4 separate regions of the Homo sapiens genome follow, and all the other regions are linked to region 1. The links are contacts of gene promoters, found by promoter capture Hi-C in human tissues and cell types (Jung and others, 2019). All regions are on one chromosome and are shown on one strand. Each heading gives the region's core, a stretch centred on a gene start or on the middle of the fragment in contact. The rest is flanking DNA. Distances are from core to core; before and after follow the strand shown. Region 1 holds the start of ANKS6 (ankyrin repeat and sterile alpha motif domain containing 6). Region 2 holds the start of CORO2A (coronin 2A). Region 3 overlaps TBC1D2 (TBC1 domain family member 2). Region 4 has its middle 29 kb from the start of TBC1D2.

Region 1 (3,597 bases), core at 800-3,299:
AGCAGAAAGCTGGAGCACAACTCAACACAGGCAGAGATGCTACCTGAATATAGAGTCGGTGTCACACCAACTGAGGAACAGCACATTTTAAAATACCCAGGCTCAAGACTATCCTGCAGAACTTGGTTAAAACTGATGATCTGGGGTCTCTGAGACACTCTGAGGCATGTCAGTGCTGTAGTCACAAACCTCACTCAGTAAATTCCTCAGGGGGCTCACCAGGGCCCCTGTGCACGCACTTGGTGGATTGCAGAGATGAGACACACATAACACATCAGTGGCTCCCAAACCTACCATACAAGAGAATCACTGGGGAGCCTCTTCTCACACAGAGTCCCTGTCTCTTACTCCCCTCACTGCCCTGGGCCTTCTAAATCACAATCTCCAGAAAAGGAACTCAGGAATCTGCACTTAGACAAGCATCCTGGTGATTCTGATGTGTGGCCAGGTTTGGGTACTGAGGAAGCCAGTCAGCATTAACATGGTGTGATGGATGCTACCACAGAGGCCTTTCTGCTGCGGAGGGACCAGAGAACAGGGAGATATCATGGCAGGCTTCACAGAAGCCAGATCTCTAGATGCCATCCTTGCTGTCTCTCTTAACCCCTCCCCAAGGGCCAGTCGTCAACTCCTGCTGATCTACTCCCTGAATATATCACAAATTCATCTGGGTGCCCTCCCTCCGCTGTCTCCATTCTGGTCTAGGCCACCATCACCTCTCACTCAGACTGCAGCAAACTCTACCTAACCAGCCTTTTTGACTCTAGCTTACCCTAGAGTATCTAATCTATTCTCACACTTCAAGGAAAGTAATTTTTCCAAAACGTAACTCTCATCCTGTCACTCATTCTGCCTAGAACCTTCCATGACTCCCTAGCACCTTCCATGACTCCCTAGCACCCTAGGATAGCTAGCGTTTCTCAGCTCCCACACTCCCCCAACTCCCTGGCATCTGCCTTCTCTCCAGGGAGGACTAGTACATCATTCTACTCATACATTCTACGCATACCTCATTCTACCAGTCCTACCAGCTCGTGCACCCAAGCCTTTGCATGGGCCTCCCATCATGCCTTCCCACAGCCCACTTGTAATGTCCTGGCTAATTCTCAGGTATCCGCAGGTCTCCACGTGGATATAAACATCTTTTCTACCAGAAACCTTCCCCCACGTCTCCAAAATGGGTCACCTGCCCCACAGCTACTCAAACCTTTCCGGTCAAGCTCGTTCCTTTGCCTGGCCTGCCCACCAATGCCCTGGGTGGGGACTCTGCCTGGGTCTCGCAGCACCCTCAACGCCAAGCCAGGAAGGGAAGGCAGGTTCTGAGGAAACTCTTACTGCAATAAGAAATGAATTAAATCTCTAAGGTTCTAAGTCTCTACAATTCTATTCGCTGTCTCCAGATTCTATTCTGAAAGGCCAAAATTTCTAAGAATCTGATTTTATGTTAATTCAAAAGTGTTTCCACGTCTATGCTCAAAGTTTACAAAAGACTACTCAAAGTTTACCATTCCAACTCTAAGGAGTCCTTAACTCTTCACCTCCCGGGGCATCCGGCCGCCGGGGACCGCGTCTCGGGCCAGCGCCGGGCACCACTCTGGTCCCGGGCCCCCGGGCCCCGCCGCCTCACCTGGCCGCCTGCATGAGCGCGCTCCAGCCGTAGTGGTTGCGGCTGTTGACCGAGGCACCGCGGCGCAGCAGGAAGCGCACCAGCGGTTCGTGGCCCCCGGCCGCGGCGAACTGCAGTGCGGTGTTGCCCGCCTCGTCCGAGCAATCCACGGGCACCGGAGCCCCGACTGCCCCCGCCGCTGCGGCCCCGGGCCCGGCCACCTCGGCCCCCGCCGGCTCCGCGCCCGCCTCCGGCTCCGCGCCGCGCTCGGCTGGCTCCGCCGCCCCCGGCTCCAGCAGCCGCCGCGCCGTCTCCGTGTCGCCCTGGTCACACGCGCGCAGCAGCAGCTGGAAGGCCGGGGGCAGCCCGCCCTCGCCCATCGCCGCCGCCACGCGCGGCCCGCTCCCGTCCGCCCCGCCGGCCGCGTCGGCTCCGCCCCCGGATACCGCCCGCAGGCGCCCCCTTCCGGCCACCCGCCCGCGCCGCGCGCCTACTGTGTGCCGGGAGCGCGCCGGGGCTAGGGCCGCGCGCCTGCTGTGTGCCGGGAGCGCGCTAGGGCCGGGGCTGCGCACCTCCAGTGCCCGTATTCGGGAGTCCAGGGACGCTCAGAGGAGCGCCCGCCGCAGACCCGCGTGTTCCCTTTTGCCTCTTCGGCGCCCTCTCGCCGCCCTGTCCCGGGGCTCCAGAAACTTCCTGTCAGGGCAGAGGTGGGAGCGGCCACGCCATCCCCTCTTCACGCTGTGGTCAGGGCCCTGGGCCCGGGTCTGAGTCCGCAGCTGCGTGGGCCTTGACTTTACTAGCGGGCTCCGCTGACCCCACCGCAGCCCCTGGCACTGAACCTGCCCTTCTAGAATAAGGAAGCGGCTGAATTAAGGAACGAACGGATTGTTTCCTCACAGTGTCCTGCGGTGCCCTTAATGTCGCTCCTTCATCTGGGCCAGGCTGCTGGGGCTAAAAGCGCCTCCTGTTCTCTCTCTCTCCCCCACCTTTTATTTCAACTATTATTATAGATTAAAGGGTACAGGTTTGTTACATGGGTAAATTGTTACATGGGTAAATTGCGCGACGCTGAAGCTTGTGGTCCCAACGATCCCGTCACCCAGGCAGTAAGCATAATACCCACCAAGAGGTTCTTCAGCCCAGAGTCCCCTCCATCCCTCCCTGGCCTAGCGATCCCCAGCGTTTGTTGTTCCCATCTTTGTGTCCATGTGTACTCAATGTTTAGCTCCCACTTATAAGTGAGAACATGCAGTATTTGGTTTTCTGTTCTTTTTAGGTCGCTTAGGATAATGGCCTCCAGCTTTATCCATGTTGCTGCAAAGGGCATGATTTCGTTCATTCTTATGGCTGCATAGTATTCCGTAGTATTCCATCATATTCTATCGTGTATATGCACCACATTTCTTTCATTCCTTCCCTCTCTTCCCTCCCTCCCTCCCTATCCCCCTTCCTTCCTCCCTCCCTCCCTCCCTTTCTCCCTCTCTCTCTCTCTCTCTCTCTCTCTTTTGACAGGGTCTTGCTCTGTCATCCAGGCTGGAGTGCAATGGTGCAATCTCTACTCACCACAACCTCTGCCTCCCAGGCTCAAGCAATCCTCCCACCTCAGCCTACCGAGTAGCTAGGACTGCAGGCAAGTGCCACCACACCCGGCTAATTTTTTGTATTTTTGGTTGAGAAAGGGTTTTACCATGTTGTCCGGCTGGTCTCAAAGTCCTGAGCTCAAGTGATTCACCTGCTGTGGCCTCCCAAAGTGCCAGGATTACAGGTGTGAGCCATCACATCTGGCTCTGTACCACATGTTCTTTATCCAATCTACTGTTGATGGGCACTTAGGTTGATTCCATACCCTTGCTATTGTAAATGGCACTGCAATGAATATACAGGTGTCTTTTTGATAGAATGAATTATTTTCCTTTGGGTATATACCTGGTAGTAGGTTTGCTGGGTCAAATAGTTCTATTTTAAGTTCTTTGAGAAATCTCCAAACTGCT
Region 2 (3,597 bases), core at 683-3,182, 600 kb before region 1:
ATGCTCCTAAATCAGGCCAAAAAGGCTTGAATTAGGCAAGCAGGAAAACAGGGCCCAGATTATACATGTGTCGAGATGACAGGAGACCCAGGTAGCACTTAAGCCTGTGCGTCGGAGCTGGGCTCATGGGCCAGCACATATACTTTGCCTGCTTTTACGAGGGGATAATAACACTCATTTGTGGTCCAGCTCCCAGTCCTGTGCAGCTCCACCATGGCCGCAGGGCAAGGTCATAGGCACTACTTCAGCCCTAGAATTCCATAGACTTTCAGTCCAAGGTAGCTCACCCCCAGGTTCTGCTTGAATACCTGTGATGACAAAGAGCTCACTACCTGTCCAGGGGCCTCCTGCCCTCTTTTGGCTGTTAAGAAAATCCCTGGGTGCAGGGCAGGTCATGAAGGGGACAAGAAAGACCAGGAGGCTGAGAAGTGATTCCTAGAAACTGCTCCCTCAAACAGGGCAGGCATCAGGGAGGTGGAGAAGAGGCCCCATGGGGCAGGAAAGGCCTGCAGAGGGGCTCCGGCTCTCCTCACTCCGGACCTCTCAGACGGTCCCCAGGAGGGGCAGGAAGCTGGGGAGACACATTCCAGTCCTGATGCACAGGTGGGTTCTGAACAAGCCCCAGGAAAGCGGAGGCCCCACAGCCTGCTCCAGGGCAGACACCTCGGCTCCCTCTTCTTGCCTTGGCTCCCTGGGATCTGATGGGAGAAACTGCTGGGCCTGGGGCTGCTGGGTCTGGAGATGAGCATATTTAAGGGACCTGACCACTGCCCCAGGGTGAGGGAGGAAGGGTCAGAGGTTGTTTGTGTGTCCAGAGCAGGACCAGCAGGAGAGGCAGTGACTGGGTAGCAGATTCCAGCTTGGTTTACAACTAGTGAGATTCCTATCACAAGGAGTGTGCAAGGGGGCAGCAAGACCTTCCAGAGGGGATCTTACAGAGGGGCTGGGCCAGATGCCATAGGTCTTCTTTACCTAGGGAGCCTGGGACCACAGTCCCTCAGACCTGTGCTCTGCCCCATCCCTTAATGCCACGCGGACACAGCACCTTGGCACTGTCACCCCTCTGAGGTCCAGGCGTGGCCGCCAGTCACCCCTTGTCACACCAGCTAGTGTGTGTCACACCTTATCACACACTAGCTCTGGGACACAGAGCTAGGCACCAGCACCTGGCCCGGGTGGGGAAGGGGAAGGAGCTATCCTATACCACTCTCTAAATCGAGGTGCCTACGTGGGGCTGGTCCAGGCAGTCGTGCCGCCAGGAGTCCAGCCACCTCCAACCTAGGGCTCCTCCAGCCCCAGACGAGTAAACCCTCTTGGCGGGCCGGCTGATGCCCCACATGCACGCCCAGGCCGGCTTGGCGGGGACCCGGGGATGCCCCCCACCCCACCGTTTCCTGTACCAGGAAGCTGAGGCCCAGCAGGTAACGCAGCCAAGAGGGGGAGGGTCCCGACAAGAGTCCCATGGAGCACCCGGGCCACAGCAGGGGCCTGTCGGGACCGGCTGGCCGCGCCCAGAGTGAGCTTCCCTCACCGCGGGCAGGAGGGGTGGGCGGTGCAGACAGTGCTCATGAGGGCAGCGAGCCGTCGGGAGCCCGGACCTCGAGGCGGCCCCTCCCAACAACCCCGCGAGAAGGGGGCCACCAATGAGCAAGCTATCCTGACGGGGAAACTGAGGCCTGGAGAGGAGCAGTGCTTTGTGCAAGGTCACGCAAAGGGGCTGAAAGCCAGGTCCCCCGCGCTCCGAGCCCCGCATCCCTCCCTCTCCGGGAGCTGCAGCCGCAGCGCGCACGTCCCGCCCGACGCCCCCATCGCGCAGACCGGGAAGGCACGGCCGGCGGCGCAGGGCCGCCCTACCTTGATGACTGCCGCGCAGGTGGCGGTGGCGGCGGCGGCGTCCAGCTCCGGCTCCGCGCTCCTCGCCGCCCGCCGACTCCCGGCGCCCAGAGCCGCCGCCGCCTCCCCCTGCAGCCCGGCGGGCGGGGCCGGAGGGCGGGGCGGGGGCCTGGCCCAAGGTCCGCCCTTTTGCCCGCCCCGCGGGTCCGCCCTGGCCACCCTTTTCCGCCCCCACGACCCCGACCGCGCTCCTGGCTCCCCGGGGCGGGTCTCGGGGCGCGCACACGTGCTGGGAACAGGCGCGCACACGCCGCAGTGATTGGGGCGGGCTGCCGGCCACCAGGCGGAGGCTGGGGACAGGCAGAGCCGCGGGCCCCACGTCGCGCCGTGCCCTCGCTGCGTGGTGTGGGATGAGGAACCTGACCTCCCGGAGCCTCAGTTTCCCCCGTTGTGAAATGGAGACAGTAACCGCGTCGGCCTCTTAAGGCTGTTTGAGCCCTGGATGTGACGATCCCGGCCGGGTACAGTGCGCGCGCCGAGCCCGGCCAGGGAAGCGCTCCTTTCCCCGAGCAGTTACAGCGGTTACCGAGGCTTCCCCGTCCGCAGGGAGGAGAGGAGCCGGGAGCGCCGCTGGGAACCGAGGAGGACGCCCTTCCTTCTCTCGGGACCAGCCGGGGGCGCTGCTGCCAGCCTCGCTGGCTGGAGAGCCCTGAGGACACTAGACAATGGGGAGGCCCTACCTTTGGGTACCACCCCCACCTAACACTACTGAGCCACGCACTCCTCTAAGCGCCTTCTGTGCATTACCTCGCTTCACTGTCACACAGGCCTATGAGGTTGATACCATTACTCACCTATTTAACACAAAAGAGCTGAGGCACAGAGATATTAAGTACCTAGGTTAAGATCACCCGGCTAGTCATGCAACCCCAGGCAGTATGGCTCCCACGGCTACTAAGCTAACAGCCACTCCACTCCACACCACGTCTGTGAAGAGCTCTTGGTTTTGTTCAGTAGAGACGGGTTATCTTGAGGGCCTTGAACTGCTCCGTGGCACATAGTAACCACTCAATATATAGTTGTGGAGTGGATAACAGAGTACACTGTTACTACTTTACATATCTGTATCGTTTCTTCTAAGCTTCTAATAATAGTGGCTTTATTTAGCCACTATTATTACCTCCATTTTACAGATAAGAAAACTGAGGCTTGGAGTGGCAAGGTACTTAGGGAGCTCTTGATTCTCTCCTTAGAATGTGACTCAGCTTCCATAGTCCACTGTACCACCCCCCTGCCCAGAGCTGGACGGGCTCCCTGCCTACCACCCAAAGCCCAGTGTGCACTATGGTCCTGAAAACCCCATCCTACAGCTCTGATTCAGACCTTCTGGAGCTGGATTGCCCAGCAGGTAGACTGAACGCATGCTTCTGGTGTTAGCGTGCAAGAGTTGGGTATCAAGCATATGGATGGCTGGGCGCAGTGGCTCATGCTTGTAATCCCAGCACTTTGGGAGGCCAAGGCAGGTGGATTGCTTGAGCTCAAGAGTTCAAGACCAGCCTGGCCAACATGGTGAAAACCTGTCTCTACTAAAAATACAAAAATTAGCCGGGCGTGGTGGCATGTGCCTATAGTTCCAGCTACTTGGGAAGCTGAGGCAGGATAATCACTTGAACCTAGGAGGTGGAGGTGGCAGTGAGCCGAGATCACATCACTGCACTCCAGCCTGGGCTACAGAGTGGGACTCTGTCTCAAACAAACAAACAA
Region 3 (3,597 bases), core at 404-2,903, 570 kb before region 1:
TGACTGTTAGCTGGGCACATGGTTCCCCAGCTTAAAACTGCATCTCCCAGCCAAGCCATGGTGAGGTGTAGCCAAGTAACTATTCTGCCTAAATGGGAAATGAAAAGTGAGATGGGCAGCTTCTGGGTCCTACCTTTAAAACCACTAGATACACGCTCCTCTGGTCCAGTTCTCTTTGCTTCTGGCTGGGAAGTGGCAGGAACTAGAGTGGCCGCCTCAGACCCACAGCAGAAGGTACATGTTGAGAAAGGGCTGCCCCCCAGCTCAGAGTTGCTCACCTACCTCTGGGTTCTTTAATGTGAATGAGAAACCTCTCACTCGTTTTGGGCCACAGTGCTTTGAAACTTTTTTTTTTTGAGATAGCGTCTCCCTCTGTTACCCAGCCTGGAGTGCAGTGGCACAGACATGGCTCACTGTAGCCTCAATCTCCTGGGCTCAGCTGATCCTCCCACCTTAGCCTCTCAAGTAGCTGGGACCACAGGAACATGCCAACACACCAGGCTAATATTTGTATTTTTTTGTAGAGAAGGGGTTTTGCCATGTTGCCGGGCTGGTCTCAAACTCCTGGACTCAAATGATCTGCCCACCTTGGCCTTCCAAAGTGCTGGGATTACAGGTATGAGTCACCACACCCAGTGGAGATGTTTTTGTCACAGCAGCTGAACCCATACCCTGACATATACACATCCATTTCAGGGATGAACAAACTGAGGCCCAGCAGAGAGTAGAATGGAATTCAATCTCAATTGGCTAGATTCCAAAGCCTGTGCTCAGTAACTAAGAAAACCAGGGGTGGCAGCTATGTGGCATTACTCTTCCCTCTCATCCCTGTGGCAGACATCACTAATTAATCTCCCATACTTCTTCCTGCACAGCCTACCCTAGTTGAGGCCTCAGAATCATTCTCAATATAGCAGCCAGTCACTACCAATCAAGTTGAGTCAGGGTTAAAGAGGAAATACACTGGCAATCCCCATGTAAAGCCACACACAGAGGACCTCATTCAAGCCATTTGTGCCTAGTTACCTTCAGCCCACCAGCCGATGCCTGCAAAGCTGGTGGAAGGAACTCTAGAAAGTTCAGAAACAATAGAGCTTGATTTATTCCTCAGCAGGGGCAACTAATTCACACAGGAACTCAAGGTCTGCTCAGCTCCCTGTGCCTTTAAGCCTGTAATTTCCCCAGGGAGGGCCACGCCTGGACTCAGGCCTATCTGTCCCAAAGCAGGGATGTGAATTTGTTCTGGGCCAGGATCAGGACATCAGCAGCCAGGTCCACGTGGAACTAATACCAGGTAGGTATGACTTTCAGGCAACACTGCCCTGCTCTGTGCTTCTCATTTGGAAAAACATGGTTTCCTAGAGACATGTCAACTATACCACACCAAAGTATTAAAATGAGTGGATTGGCTGGATAGCCTTATTTGCTAAGAACAATTCTATATTGGAGGAAAACTGCCAAAAACCATGACTTTTTTGGAGAAGCTAATGACAAGACCACATTAGCCTGCATCTTCTGAAACCTTAGGACTAGTGACCATCCTTTCTCTGGTTCTCTCTTTTCCTTCCACATGCCCATCCATCCATCCAACCTTTACCAAGCACCACTCGGTGCCAGGCCAGGCCCTGAGCCAGGTGCCGTGGCCCAGAGAGGGAGTGGTGAGAGTTCCCACCTCCAAGGACTGCAAAGGCTGGTGGGAATGAACATGACCCACCACAGTGGAATGATCTACTGCAAGTCAGGGGAACAAGGGTGTTTGTGGGAAAGGCAATGACTTCTGTCTGGGGTGGAGGTTGTGGGGAATACCAGTCCAGAGCATTTAAAAGAAACTGTGAAGAATGAGAAGGGCCAGAGATGGTCGAGCAGCAGGTGGGAGATGAGGGTGGGGATGGCCCTCCAGATGTGGCCAAGCTACAGCCCCAGTAAAGACCTGGAGGAAGGAAAGAGCTACCATGGAGCTGTGGGAGCCCTGGGGTGTGGCAGGAAGTTGGGGTGAGGACAGCACAGTGATTGCAAACCAAAAGGGAATGTTTGGAACGTCCAGAATGAAGAAGTCAGCTTCTCAGGGCTCAGTGGAGAGAGATTAACATTCCTGTGGTTCCAGGAAAACTGGGGGCCTAGGCCATTTTCTGCTTCAGCTGAGATTTGGAGGTTACCTTGGATGACTGCCCAGGGAAATAACCAACAGACATCATTGTTCAGACTTGCCCTAGGAGCAGGACCAGTGGGTGTCTTTCCCTCAATTTGGGGAGTTAGTTGACTCTGAAGCTTATTTCATTACATCTAGCTGTCTCCTTCCCGCATTTGGCTCCCAGAATCTAAGACTGAGACACCAGCCCAGGAGGCTCTCCTCCCACCCCCAGAATTCTTGTACCAGAATAAAATAGGCTTAAAAGAACGGAACCAGGGCAGAGGGAGGGAGCCTCAGTAGGACTTGTAAGATGAGGAGTGAGAATGTCATGAATTCAAGAAACCTAAAGTCTGGATTATAAGCAATGTCTTAGGACCAATTCTTAAAAATAGGTTGGGCCGGGCGTGGTGGCTCACGCCTGTAATCCCAGCACTTTGGGAGGCCAAGGCGGTCGGATCACGAGGTCAGGAGATCGAGACCATCCTGGCTAACATGGTGAAACCCCGTCTCTACTAAAAATACAAAAAAATTAGCCAGGCGTGGTGGCGGGTGCCTGTAGTCCCAGCTACTCAGGAGGCTGAGGCAGAATGGTGTGAACCCGGGAGGCGGAGCTGGCAGTGAGCTGAGATCGCACCACTGCACTCTAGCCTGGGCGACAGAGCGAGACTCCATCTCAAAAAAAAAAAAAAGAAAAGAAAAGAAAAGAAAAATAGAGGGGTTGATGAAATTAAGCTTTTTGAAGTGTTTTTTTTTCTTTTCTTTTTTTTTTTTTTTTTTTTGAGACAGGGTCTCACTCTGTTGCCCAGGCTGGAGTGCAGTGGCGCAATCACGGCCCACCGCAGCCTCAACCTCCTGGGCTCAAGAGATTCTCTTGCCTCAGTCTCCCTTGTAGCTGGGACTACAGGCATGCACCACATTGCCCAGCTAATTATTTTATTTTCTGTAGAGACAGGGTCTCCCTATGTTGTTCGGGGTGGTCTTGAACTCTTGGGCTCAAGAGATCCTCCCACCTTGGCCTCCCAAAGTGTTGGGGTTATAGGTGTGAGCCACCATGCCCGGCCCAAGTGGTACTTTTAATATTTCTCAATCGAGTTGTTTGGTTCATCTCAGATTTTGATACGTGGTCATAAGTTGTCACTTTATTTAAATTTTTAAAAGCCAATAAATCATCTTTAAAAAATAATCCTTTATCTTTTTAGAGCATTGCTACTTTCATCAGTGGTGGGCCCTACAGGGGTCAGATGAAGGGGCATGGGCTTTGGAGTTGCACAGGCCTCGGTTCCCATTCTGGATCCGTGGGGGGTGTATCTAACGAGGTGACTCTAAGGAGGGTAGCTCAGGTGGCCTCTTCATTGAACCTCAGCTTTCTCATGAATGGGGCTAAAGCTTCCTCTTCTGCTCAGAACTGCCTCTAGCATGAAAGAGAAAGTGCCAAGTGTCCCTCCCCAAGCTGACATGGCCAAGGT
Region 4 (3,597 bases), core at 610-3,109, 510 kb before region 1:
ACCTCCGTCTCCCGGGTTCAAGTGATCCTCCTGCATCAGCCTCCAGAGTTGCTGGGACTACAGGTGCGTGCCACCATGCCCAGCTAATTTTTGCATTTTTGTAGAGATGGGGTTTCACCATGTTGGCCAGGCTGGTCTCATACTTCTGACCTCAAGTGATCCACCCGCCTTGGCCTCCCAAAGTGCTGGGATTACAGGTGTGAGCCACCGCGCTTGGCCAGAGAACATATTTTTCCCTCTGCATCTTGTGGCTGCTGCTTCTTTTATCCTTACTCTGGTCTCTACCTAAACATAGAATTTGCTGTTTTTCTTTATTTCCACTAAAACTCACAAAGCTTTTACTTGTATAGTAAATGTAACCAAAGGTTTAGGGACATTTTGCAGGAGGGAGTGAAATAAAGGGAAGACAGAGGCTTTTACTTCATGCAACACAAATGACTTAAAATCAAATATTCAACATCCCTATTCTTTTTTTTTTGAAAAGGAATTTTGCTCTTGTTGCCCAGGCTGGAGTGCAATGGTGCAATCTCGACTCACTGCAACCTCCACCTCCCAGGTTCAAGTGATTCTCATACCTCAGCCTCCTGAGTAGCTGGGGTTACAGGCGTGTGCCACCATGCCTGGCTAATTTTTTGTATTTTTAGTAGATACGGGGTTTCATCATGTTCGCCAGGCTAGTTGCGAACTCCTGACCTCAGGTGATTCACCCGCCTCAGCCTCCCAAAGTGCTGGGGTTACAGGCATGAGCCACCGCACCTGGCTGACATCCCTATTCTTAAAAGCTTTTTAGCCACACTGTCCTGTTATTTATCACCCACTCCTTTCATTTTTCTCTCCTTCTAACCCCAAACTTCTAGTTCTTTTTCTAACAGAATTGTTCTGCTGTCTCTCTTTTAGCCTTGTCTTTAGAATCTCACCTTGCCCCTAACACAGCATGTCAGGATGTTTTCCCTAATGACATTCTTCCTAGATGCAGTCTGTTGTGAGGAGACTAGGCTGTTGGCTGCCCCATTGTACCTACTAAAGCTGCTCATTTTACATTCCTCCTGTCTGGGAGTAGCACAAATATAAGCTTAGTGTTCACAAGGCACTTTCCCCTACATGAGCCTCTTTGACTGTCAGAGAAGCTCTGAGCGAGGTATCATGTCCATTTTACAGATGAGGGATCAGAAGCTCAGAGAGGTGGAATCATTCAAAGCCATGCAGCCAGGTAAGTGAAGGTGTACAAATGTGCACCCAGGCCTGATGATTTTTCAGATGTAACTCACATCATCACACATAGACAGGATGCGTGCTGTCTGATCACGCAGCAGTCTGAAGTCACATGGATTCCATGACAGGTGATTAACACACAACAACTTAGTTGTCCTTGGTGCAGCCACAGCAGCCCCTGCAGGTGCATGCATTCTACAGAATTGGGCTGCTAGTTCTCTCCCTCTCCCCTCCTCTTCTTTCTCTCTTTTGCTGGCTAGCTTTTACTCATTTTCAGGTCTAGGTATAGGACTGGCTACATAATTTGTGGGCTCCAGTATGAAATTAAAGTGCTAAGCCCTGGGCCGCGTACAGTGGTTCGTGCCTGTAATGCCAGCACTTTGGGATGCTGAGGTGGGAGGACTGCTTGAGCCCAGGTGATCGGGACCAGCCTGGGCAACATAAATTTTTTTAAATATTTTATTTTTTAGAGAGATCTCATCTCTCTAAACAATAAAAAATTAGCCAGGCATGGTGTTGCATGCCTGTAGTACCAGCTACTCGTAGGCTGAGTGGGGAGGATTGCTCGAGCCCAGGAGGTCAAGGCTGCAGTGAGCTGTGATCATGCCACTGTACTCCAGCCTGGACAACAGAGTGAGACATTGTCTCAAAAATAAACAAGTCAATAAAAAATAAAAATAAAATAAAATTCTAAGCCCCCTTTTCAAAAGTTATTTAGAATTTCAAAATAGTTACAGCAGAGCATTAAGTCGAACATGAGGCCCTTTAAAAACTGTATAGGTTGCAAACCCCCAAAACTAGCCCTGTTTGGAGGCTATGGCCCCCAGGAGGCATGTCCATTCTGGAGCAGGTGCTTATCACAGGCTATTGTCATTTCTTCATTAAGCATCTGTCTTCCTATTAGTGTGTGAGCTTCTTGAGACCTATATCCTACTCACTGTTCACCTGGCACCTAGCACAGGCCTTGGCAAAGATCAGGGGCTCGGTGGATGCCCCATTGAGGGTCTGGGGCTCCTGAAGGTGGGACCTGGAGGAACCAGACAGTGAATTGTCATCTCTGGGCAGGACCCACTCAGGACCACGGACAGGGCAGACCAAGTATGATGGAGTTAGCCCCTGGGATTTGCCAGGGGTTTCAGATGTGGGGTGGAGGCAGAGGAGGGACCAATTTTCTCTTCCAGAGAGTGTGTTAATCATTTACTGTCCAGTACCTACAAACCCTGCTCCTCAAGGCTAAGTAAGGGGTGACAAGCTAAGGGGGTAGGGGACAGGCAGGTGACAAGTGCTGGGCACGCAGCTTGGTGCCAGCCCTCCGGCCCTCAGCCTGGCTCCTTGACCCTTCTTTAGCCTCCTGAGGCTTCTTAGCCCCATCTTCCCTTTGGGTATCCTTACCCACCTCCCTGTTCAGCAGCGTGTGTGAGGCCAGGGAAATATCTCCTGCATGTCTCCTTAATACCAGGAGGGTTTCAGACAACAGTGAACCCCTCGTGGAGCCCCTCTGCATCCCACAGATTTCTTTTGGTTCTAAGTGACAGAAACCCAACTCTATGTAAGCAGAAAAGGGTATGTATTAGTTTAAAACCTACAAGCTCAAGGATGGATGTATTTTTAGGTATCACTGGTCCTTGAGCCTAAATGATGCAATGAGAGCTCAGTTTCCCTCTTTTCATTGCTCTCCACGTGGAGGGCAAGATTTCAAACTTCTTAAAAACGGCAGGGGAAAGCTTTGACTGGCTGGGCTTGGTTAATGAGCATATCCCTGAGCCAATCCTGTGTCCAGCAGTGGAAGCAAGGGCGGCCCTCCAGATTTTCTCTCTTCTGCTTTCCCCCAAAAGTAGGGCAGTGCTTTCAGAGGAGCTGCAGGAAGGCAGATGTGGTTGCTGGACAGGCAGAGGTGCTGATGGCCGCCAGTCTGCTTTTTGCAATCTACCCAGTACCACCTCCTCTCCCTGGCACTGGCTTCTAGGCCTGTGGATCCTGATCCTTGTAGAGAAGAAATTGCTGAGCACAGGAAACTGCCTGGAAGGGCAGGCCTCGGCTGGTGCCCCAGGCTTAATGTTTTCAGAAACCTCTCCCCTTCTTCCCTCAGAGTGGACCCCAGTGTTGTCTCCACACCCCAGGGTGAGGAGACCCCCAGGCAGAGCTTTCTAAGAGGGCTTCAACTCCAGAAAGCCTGTCTTTGAGGTTGGGAAACACTCTTTTATTTTTAACTCAGAAATGACCCAGTCATAACAAAAGGAAGACAGAATGCTTTTGAAGAAGAATGAAGAGGAATGAAGTGCACCATTGCTGTCTGGGCTTTTCCTGCTTATGGCCAAGCAAGGCATCACTTCAGTGATGTGACAAGGAGCATCTTCAACACTTGGGTCATTTCTCTCTTTCAGA

Evidence for each region. The method cuts DNA at HindIII sites, captures the fragments that hold promoters and counts their contacts. A contact is called where the count stands out against the background at its distance.
Region 2: the fragment with the promoter of CORO2A here is called in contact with the fragment with the promoter of ANKS6 in region 1 in 1 of the 25 tissues and cell types used here (mesendoderm cells).
Region 3: a fragment that was not itself captured here is called in contact with the fragment with the promoter of ANKS6 in region 1 in 1 of the 25 tissues and cell types used here (esophagus).
Region 4: a contact is called between a fragment that was not itself captured here and the fragment with the promoter of ANKS6 in region 1, in 7 of the 25 tissues and cell types used here (IMR-90 fibroblasts, adrenal gland, aorta and 4 more).

The regions. Positions count from the first base shown.
Region 1 is chr9:98,794,506-98,798,102 of GRCh38, forward strand. ANKS6 (ankyrin repeat and sterile alpha motif domain containing 6) reads right to left here and starts at 2,050. Exons shown (of 15, transcript NM_173551.5): 1 at 1,628-2,050. The coding sequence starts at 1,986. RefSeq lists enhancers at 1,313-1,813, 1,814-2,314 and a silencer at 1,573-2,192. The HindIII fragment of the contact is 18,100 bases long and covers 1-3,597 here.
Region 2 is chr9:98,190,705-98,194,301 of GRCh38, forward strand. It overlaps CORO2A (coronin 2A), which reads right to left and starts at 1,933. Exons shown (of 12, transcript NM_052820.4): 1 at 1,855-1,933. RefSeq lists an enhancer at 786-1,440 and silencers at 1,593-1,642, 1,713-2,262. The HindIII fragment of the contact is 8,969 bases long and covers 1-3,597 here.
Region 3 is chr9:98,221,391-98,224,987 of GRCh38, forward strand. All of the region lies in intron 5 of TBC1D2 (TBC1 domain family member 2), which reads right to left. Among named protein-coding and RNA genes, the nearest start is that of MIR6854, 6.0 kb to the right of the region's middle. RefSeq lists an enhancer at 1,280-2,479. The HindIII fragment of the contact is 3,073 bases long and covers 118-3,190 here.
Region 4 is chr9:98,282,644-98,286,240 of GRCh38, forward strand. No RefSeq gene overlaps it. Among named protein-coding and RNA genes, the nearest start is that of TBC1D2, 29 kb to the left of the region's middle. The HindIII fragment of the contact is 5,687 bases long and covers 1-3,597 here.